Linked DNA regions of Homo sapiens: region 1 is linked to region 2. The links are contacts of gene promoters, found by promoter capture Hi-C in human tissues and cell types (Jung and others, 2019). All regions are on one chromosome and are shown on one strand. The core of a region is centred on a gene start or on the middle of the fragment in contact, and the rest is flanking DNA. Distances in the headings are between cores, read along the strand shown. Region 1 holds the start of EMC9 (ER membrane protein complex subunit 9). Region 2 has its middle 21 kb from the start of DHRS4L2.

Region 1 (3,765 bases), core at 975-3,474, 130 kb before region 2:
TTCTCTGCTCAGTCCTTTGGGATCCTATTTCTTGGTGCTAAGAAGGGGTTCATTCTCAAGTTAACCTATTTCCTATAAAAGGAAACCAGACTCATGTCCCAGCCTCCCATGGGACTGACTCAGCTTTGCCTCCCACATTGCAGATGGATTACCGGGCCTTGGTGCATGAGCGAGATGAGGCAGCCTATGGGGAGCTCAGGGCCATGGTGCTGGACCTGAGGGCCTTCTATGTGAGTGTGGAGTAAGGCTTTAGGGGAGGTGGATGAGTGGGGGCAGGCAGGGGATTGGCTAAGAACCTGACTCTTGCACTCTGGCCTTCTCCCAGGCTGAGCTTTATCATATCATCAGCAGCAACCTGGAGAAAATTGTCAACCCAAAGGGTGAAGAAAAGCCATCTATGTACTGAACCCGGGACTAGAAGGAAAATAAATGATCTATATGTTGTGTGGATTCCCTTCTGGCGTGTGTCATTCATTCAAAAAGCATTTATTGAGTGGCACCTATGTCCAGCCTGAAGATGAATGTGGTGGGAAGGGGTGGGTGTCACAAAGACAAAGATGACTTAGATGCCCACTGTAATCTTGACTGTGAGAAAGAGGGGATTCAGGCCCTTTCTCATCCAGTAGTCAATGTGCCATCTCCCCTTCCCTAGTCACCTCTTATCTCACTTACCTTCTTTCTTCTCCTGCTTATCTGTTTCCATCTAAGGCAAAAAGGGGGGAAAGTAGCTTTAGAAAAGTCACAGAGGTTGAAGGGCTATCTTCTCCATTGGGTTTATAGTCCAAGTCCTTCACCCTGAGTGCCTAGGGTGGGGATTGTTACATGCCATGGCAGCCATGCAGATAACCTGTATTTTGGAATGTAACAGTATTATTTTCATCCAGAGGTCTCAGGAATTATTGGAAGAGATGGCATTTGCACAGAGCCCTTATGGGAATAATCAGGCTTTGGATACACAAGGGGAAAGTTCTGTGGTCAACATCAGGAATGAAGAAAGAAAGAATCCTCATCAGTTCAGGAAAAGCCTAGAAGGAGAATAAGGTTTCACTGGGAGAACTATGGAGAACTACGGATGAATGATTGGACTCCCCCCACCCTTTTTTTTTTTTTTTTGAGATGGAGTCTTGCTCTGTTGCCCAGGCTGGAGTGCAATGGCACGATCTCAGCTTACTGCTACCTCCGTCTCCCGGGTTCAAGCAATTCTCCTGCCTCAGCCTCCCGAGTAGCTGGAATTACAGGCATGTGCCACCACACCTGGCTAATTTTTTTGTATTTTTAATAGAGACGGGGTTTCGCCATGTTGGCCAGGCTGGTCTCGAACTCCTGACCTCAGGCGATCCACCCACCTCGGCCTCCCAAAGTGCTGGGATTACAAGGCGTGAGCCACCGCGCCGGGCCTGGACTCCCTCCTTAAGGGCTAGGAGGGGAAAAAATAATGCTTCCAAGGCACTGTGGTGAAGGAAATACATCGCAGGACATTATGGGAAGGATGAATCTGTAAGTTTTTCTTACTGTCCTCCCCCATATCCCCTTCAGCCAATCACTGTCTTTATCTCTGCTTTTCAAGATTCAGCCCTGGGCTGGTGATAGAGACAAGGGTTCCTTTGCTGTGATCTTGCTGTAAACTCCATGGGATTGTTCTTTAATTCAGGGCCTTATCCTGTCATAAAATATGAGATAAGAATGTGCTGCGAAGCACTAGACTGGCTGGAAGCCTGCCCCCATACATATCTCATTAAATCCTTAAAGGAACACGGGCAAAAGATAAACCAAGGGCAAGAAAACCTGCAGTCGCGAAGGCAACACGGCCCATTAGTAAGTGACAGAGCCGATCTAGAGTACAGAGCCACTCAACCCATAATAGGCGCAAGGCGGTCTGCTTTGCCCGCAGCGCTCCGGAACACCCGGCTACGGGATAGCGATCCATCCTTGGGGCTCGGCGGAGCGAGTGGTAGTGGGCAACACAGGTAACAGGCAAAGCCAACCACCAACCGAGAGCGGAAGTCGGGGAACCTAGCCAATAAGAGTGCGGGCAATTTTCTGTGCTTCACAATGGTGGGTTCTTTCCAGTCCGCTGGAGACAAAGGCGGGGCAACGTTGGGGCGCGGCCGCTGATTGGACAAATTGAAAGCCTTTAGCCCTATCAAGGAGCACCACGTGGGCGGGACTCCAGGAGCCAGTTCTGCAGGGAGCTGCAGTTTGGTCTGTCTCCCAGGCAGGCGCAGAGTCGCGGCCGCCAGCTAGGGGCGCGGGAAGGCGGGGCTCGGATGCAATCGGGACCTCCTCCTGGACTGGGCCGGGGGCGGACTCCGGGACCCAGGGCGCCGGGAGCCGGCGGGCTACCTGCGAGTCGAGTTAGCGTTGTCGCCGAACCGAAGTGAGAGGGCACGGGGAAGGGTCAAAGAGCGTGCCGAAGCGCTGGAGGGAGCTTCACGGACGCGAGCTAGGCACCGGCTCGCCTAATCCGGTACTAATCCGGCTTGCTGCTTCCCGTCCAGGCCTCGCTCGCCATGGGGGAGGTGGAGATCTCGGCCCTGGCCTACGTGAAGATGTGCCTGCATGCTGCCCGGTACCCACACGCCGCAGTCAACGGGCTGTTTTTGGCGCCAGCGCCGCGGTCTGGAGAATGCCTGTGCCTCACCGACTGTGTGCCCCTCTTCCACAGCCACCTGGCCCTGTCCGTCATGTTGGAGGTCGCCCTCAACCAGGTGCCTCCGTTGGATGCCCATCCCCCACCGCGAACCCACCCAACACCCCAGCCCAAGTTCATCCCCGGTCCCTTGGCAGCAGTGCGCATCCACAAAGCCAGCGGCACAATTTAATTACTGATGGCCCCTTTCCTACGACAGGTGGATGTGTGGGGAGCACAGGCCGGTCTGGTGGTGGCTGGTTACTACCATGCCAATGCAGCTGTGAACGATCAGAGGTGAGTGGCGTAGCCAGAGGAAGAAGGAAAGGATTATGGCGGGTTGGGGATTGGAGGAATAGAGGGCGAGGATGCGTGGGGCGGTGGGCGGGGCGGGGGCGCACAAGATGAACCAAGGTCGTTCCTTTTATCTTTCCTTCATCAAACGCTTAGGAGCAGGGGCTTTACACCAGGCACTATGCTGGGTACTGGAGTGAGGGAATATAAAGATGAATAGGACAGAGCCCTGCCCTGGAGTGCCGTTGGGGCGGGGAGGACAACTGTGTATCAACAGACTGATTTTTTTTTTTTTTTTGAGACGGAGTCTCCCTCTGTCTCCCAGGCTGGAGTGCAGTGGCGCAATCTCGGCTCACTGGAACTTCCACCTCCTAGATTCAAGCGATTCTCCTGCCTCAGCCTCCCGAGTAGCTGGGATCACAGATGAGCGCCACCATGCCCGGCTAATTTTTTTTATTTTTTTAATTTATTATTATTTTTTATTTTTAGTAGAGATGGGGTTTCGCCATGTTGGCCAGGCTGGTCTAGAACTTGACCTCAGGTGATCCACGCGCCTCGGACTCCCAAAGTGCTGGGATTACAGGCGTGAGCCACCACTCTCGGCCAACAGACTGATCTTGCTTTAACTGAGGTGTCCCCCAGGGGCTGAAAGAACAGAGAAATCCCAACCAGCAACTTCAAAAATAAGGCAGTTTCCTTATATATATACATATAGGAAAAGACATATATATATATATATATATATTAATCATATACATGGAGCAATTAGAGGTACTGTTTTGTAATTTGCGTTTCTCCCTCACTTAATAAATACTTGACATCATCCCATTTCCACACCAAGA
Region 2 (3,642 bases), core at 659-3,158:
GACCTCCACTCCTTTTCATTATTTGGGAAAGACCAACAGAGAAAAAAGAGAAACTGGGAAAGAAAGGAAGAGAGAAAGTGAGAAGAGAAATCAGAAAGAGAAAGGAGAGAAAACGGCAGATGTGGAGAGCCAGGGAGAAAAAGAAAAAGAAAAAGAGACTGAGTGTGAAGGAGAGAGGACACGGGATGACAGACAGAGAGAGAGAGAGAGAGAGAGAAAGAGAGGGAGAAAATGAGTAAGAGAGAGACTGGAAAAGACAGAGATCAGAGAAAGACACAGAAGGTGAGACTGGGGAAAAAAATAATGTAAAAGAGAAAGACAGAGATCAGAGAGAGACACAGAAAGTGAGACTGGGAAAAGAAATAGTGTAAAAGGAAGAAAAAGAGAAAAAGAGAGAGAGACCATAAGAGAAGGGAGACAATGAAACAAAAAGTGCGAGTGAGCAGGTGAGGAGAAAGATTGAAAACTATGAGAAACAACAACTAAGAGACAAAGGAGAAGGGAGACTGCCTGGGTGCCGGAGCACCCACACTGTCCTCTTGCCCCCATCACTTGGGTTAAAACCATTGGAAATTCCACTATTGCAAATTTTGTATTAATCCTTGTATGTCTGCCCTCTCTATTGTTAGTCTACAGGTGTATCCAGCAGTTCCAGAAAGACAGTGACCAGCAAAAACAGGCCATGGTGACAATGACAGTTTTGTCAAAAAGAAAAGGGGGATATGTAGGGAAAAGAAAGAGAGATCAGACTGTTACCGTGTCTATGTAGAAAGGGAAGACATAAGAGACTACATTTTGAAAAAGACCTGTACTTTAAATAATTGCTTTTCTGAGATGTTGTTAATTTTTAGCTTTGCCCCAGCCACTTTGACCCAACCACTTTGACCCAACCTGGAGCTCACAAGAACATGTGTTGTATGAAATCAAGGTTTAAGGGATCTAGGACTGTGTAGGACGTGCCTTGTTAACAAAATGTTTACAAGCAGTATACTTGGTAAAAGTCATCGCCATTCTCTAGTCTCAATAAACCAGGGGCACAGTGCACTGCAGAAAGCCGCAGGGACCTCTGCCCTTGAAAGCAGGGTATTGTCCAAGGTTTCTCCCCATGTGATAGTCTGAAATATGGCCTCCTGGGATGAGAAAGACCTGACTGTCCCCCAGCCCGACACCCATAAAGGGTCTGTGCTGCGGTGGGTTAGTAAAAAAGGAAGGCCTCTTGCAGTTGAGATAGAGGAAGGCCACTGTCTCCTGCCTGCTCCTGGGAACTAAAAGTCTCGGTATAAATCCCGATTGTACATTTGTTCAGTTCTGAGATGAGAGAAAAACCGCCCTATGGTGGGAGGCGAGACATGTTTGCAGCAATGCTGCCTCGTTATTCTTTACTCCACCGAGATGTTTGGGTGGAGAGAAACATAAATCTGGCTTACGTGCATGTCCAGTCATAGTACCTTCCCTTGAACTGAATTATTAGATTCTATTGCTCACGTTTGTTGCTGACCTTCTCCTTATTATCACCCTGCCCTCCTACTACATTCCTTTTTACTGAAATAATGACGATAATAATCAATAAAAACTGAGGGAACTCAGAGACCGGTGCCGGTGCAAGTCCTTGGTATGCTGAGCGCCGGTCCCCTGGGCTCACTGTTGTTTCTCTATACTTTGTCTCTGTGTCTTATTTCTCTTTCTCAGTCTCTCGTCCCACCTGACTAGAAATACCCACAGGTGTGGAGGGGCAAGCCACCCCTTCAAACAGTAGCAACCTGCTTGGGTCCCCTTCCACACTGTGGAAGCTTTGTTCTTTCGCTCTTTGCAATAAATCTTGCTGCCCCTCACTCTTTGGGTCCACACGGCCTTTATGAGCTGTAACACTCATCGTGAAGGTCTGCAGCTTCACTCCTGAGGCCAGTGAGGCCACGAACCCAGTGGGAGGAATGAACAACTCCGGATGGGAGGAACGAACAACTCCAGACATGCCGCCTTAAGAGCTGTAACACTCACTGTGAAGGTCCGCAGCTTCACTCCTGAAGCCAGCGAGACCACGAACCCACCAGAAGGAAAAAACTCTGAACGTGTCTGAACATCAGAAGGAACAAACTCCGGACACGCTGCCTTTAAGGACTGTAACACTCACTGCGAGGGTCCGTGGCTTCATTCTTGAAGTCAGTGAGACCAAGAACCCACCAATTCCAGACACACCTTCATTTTGAGCCTATGTGTGTCTTTGCACGTGAGATTGGGTCTCCTGAATACAGCACACCATATGGGTCTTGATTCTTTATCCAATTTGCCAGTCAGTGTCTTTTAATTGGGGCATTTATCCCATTTACATTGAAGGTTAGTATTGTTATATGTGAATTTGATCCTGTCATGACGTTAGCTGGTTATTTTGCCCATTAATTGATGCAGTTTCTTCATAGCATCAATGGTCTTTACAATTTCGTATGTTTTTGCAGTGGCTGGTACTGGTTGTTCCTTTCCATGTTTAGTGCTTCCTTCAGGAGCTCTTATTGTAAGGCAGGCCTGGTGGTGACAAACTCTCTCAGCATCTGCTTGTCTGTAAAGGATTTTATTTCTCCTTCACTTACGAAGCTTAGTTTGGCTGGATATGAAATTCTAGTTCCAAAAATCTTTTCTTTCAGAATGTTGAATATTGGTCCCGACTCTCTTCTGGTTTGTATGGTTTCTGCTGAGAGATCTGCTGTTAGTCTGATGGGCTTCCCTTTGTTGGTAACCCAACCTTTCTCTCTGGCTGCCCTTAACCTTGCTGAATCTGACAATTATGTGTCTTGGGGTTGCTCTTCTCAAGGAGTGTCTTTGTGATGTTCTCTGTATTTCCTGAATTTGAATGTTTCTTTTTTCTTTTCTTGTCTCTAATCTTGTGTTCTCACTTTATTTCATTAATTTTATATTCAATCACTGATATCCTTTCTTCCACTTGATTGAATCAGCTATTGAAGCTTGTGTATCCTTCATGAAGTTCTTGTACTGTGGTTATCAGCTCCATCAGGTCATTTAAGCTCTTCTCTAGATTCTTCATTCTAGTTAGCCATTCGTTTAACATTTTGTCAAGGTTTTTAGCTTCCTTGCAATGGGTTAGAACATGCTCCTTTAGCTGGGTGTAGTTTGTTATTACTGACCTTCTGAAGCTTACGTCTGTCAAGTCATCAAACTTATTCTCCATCCAGTTTTGTTCCCTTGCTGGTGAGGACTTGTATTCCTTTGGAAGAGAAGAGACGTTCTGATTTCTGGAAGTTTCAGCCTTTTTGCTCTGGTTTCTCTCCATCTTTGTGGTTTTATCTACCTTTGGTCTTTGATGTTGGTGACCTATGGATGGGGTTTTAGTGTGGATGTCCTTTCCTGTTCTGATGTTGATGCTGTCCTTTGCTGATGTTGATGCTATTCCTTTCTGTTTGTTAGTTTTCCTTCTAACAGGCCCCTCAGCTGCAGGTCTTTGGGGGTTTGCTGGAAGTCCATTCCAGACCTTATTTTCTTGGGTATCAGTAGAGGAGGCTGCAGAACAGCAAATATTGCTGCCTGATCCTTCTTCTGGAAGCTTTGTTCCACAGGGGCACCCACCTGTATGAGGTGTCTCTCTGCCCCTACTGGGCGGTGTTTTTCAGTCAAGCTACATGGGGGTCAGGG

Evidence for each region. Contacts are between HindIII fragments. The study calls those that stand out against the background at their distance.
Region 1: a contact is called between the fragment with the promoter of EMC9 here and a fragment that was not itself captured in region 2, in 6 of the 25 tissues and cell types used here (aorta, dorsolateral prefrontal cortex, heart left ventricle and 3 more).

What each region holds. Positions count from the first base shown.
Region 1 is chr14:24,140,050-24,143,814 of GRCh38, reverse strand. It overlaps EMC9 (ER membrane protein complex subunit 9), which reads left to right and starts at 2,224. Exons shown (of 6, transcript NM_016049.4): 1 at 2,224-2,377; 2 at 2,499-2,708; 3 at 2,850-2,926. The coding sequence starts at 2,511. PSME2 (proteasome activator subunit 2) reads left to right here. Exons shown (of 11, transcript NM_002818.3): 10 at 144-230; 11 at 326-450. The coding sequence ends at 406. It overlaps MIR7703 (microRNA 7703), which reads left to right and starts at 250; the gene lies at 250-326. RefSeq lists a silencer at 2,301-2,390. The HindIII fragment of the contact is 5,248 bases long and covers 1-3,765 here.
Region 2 is chr14:24,007,802-24,011,443 of GRCh38, reverse strand. It overlaps the pseudogene DHRS4L1. Among named protein-coding and RNA genes, the nearest start is that of DHRS4L2, 21 kb to the right of the region's middle. The HindIII fragment of the contact is 5,422 bases long and covers 1-3,642 here.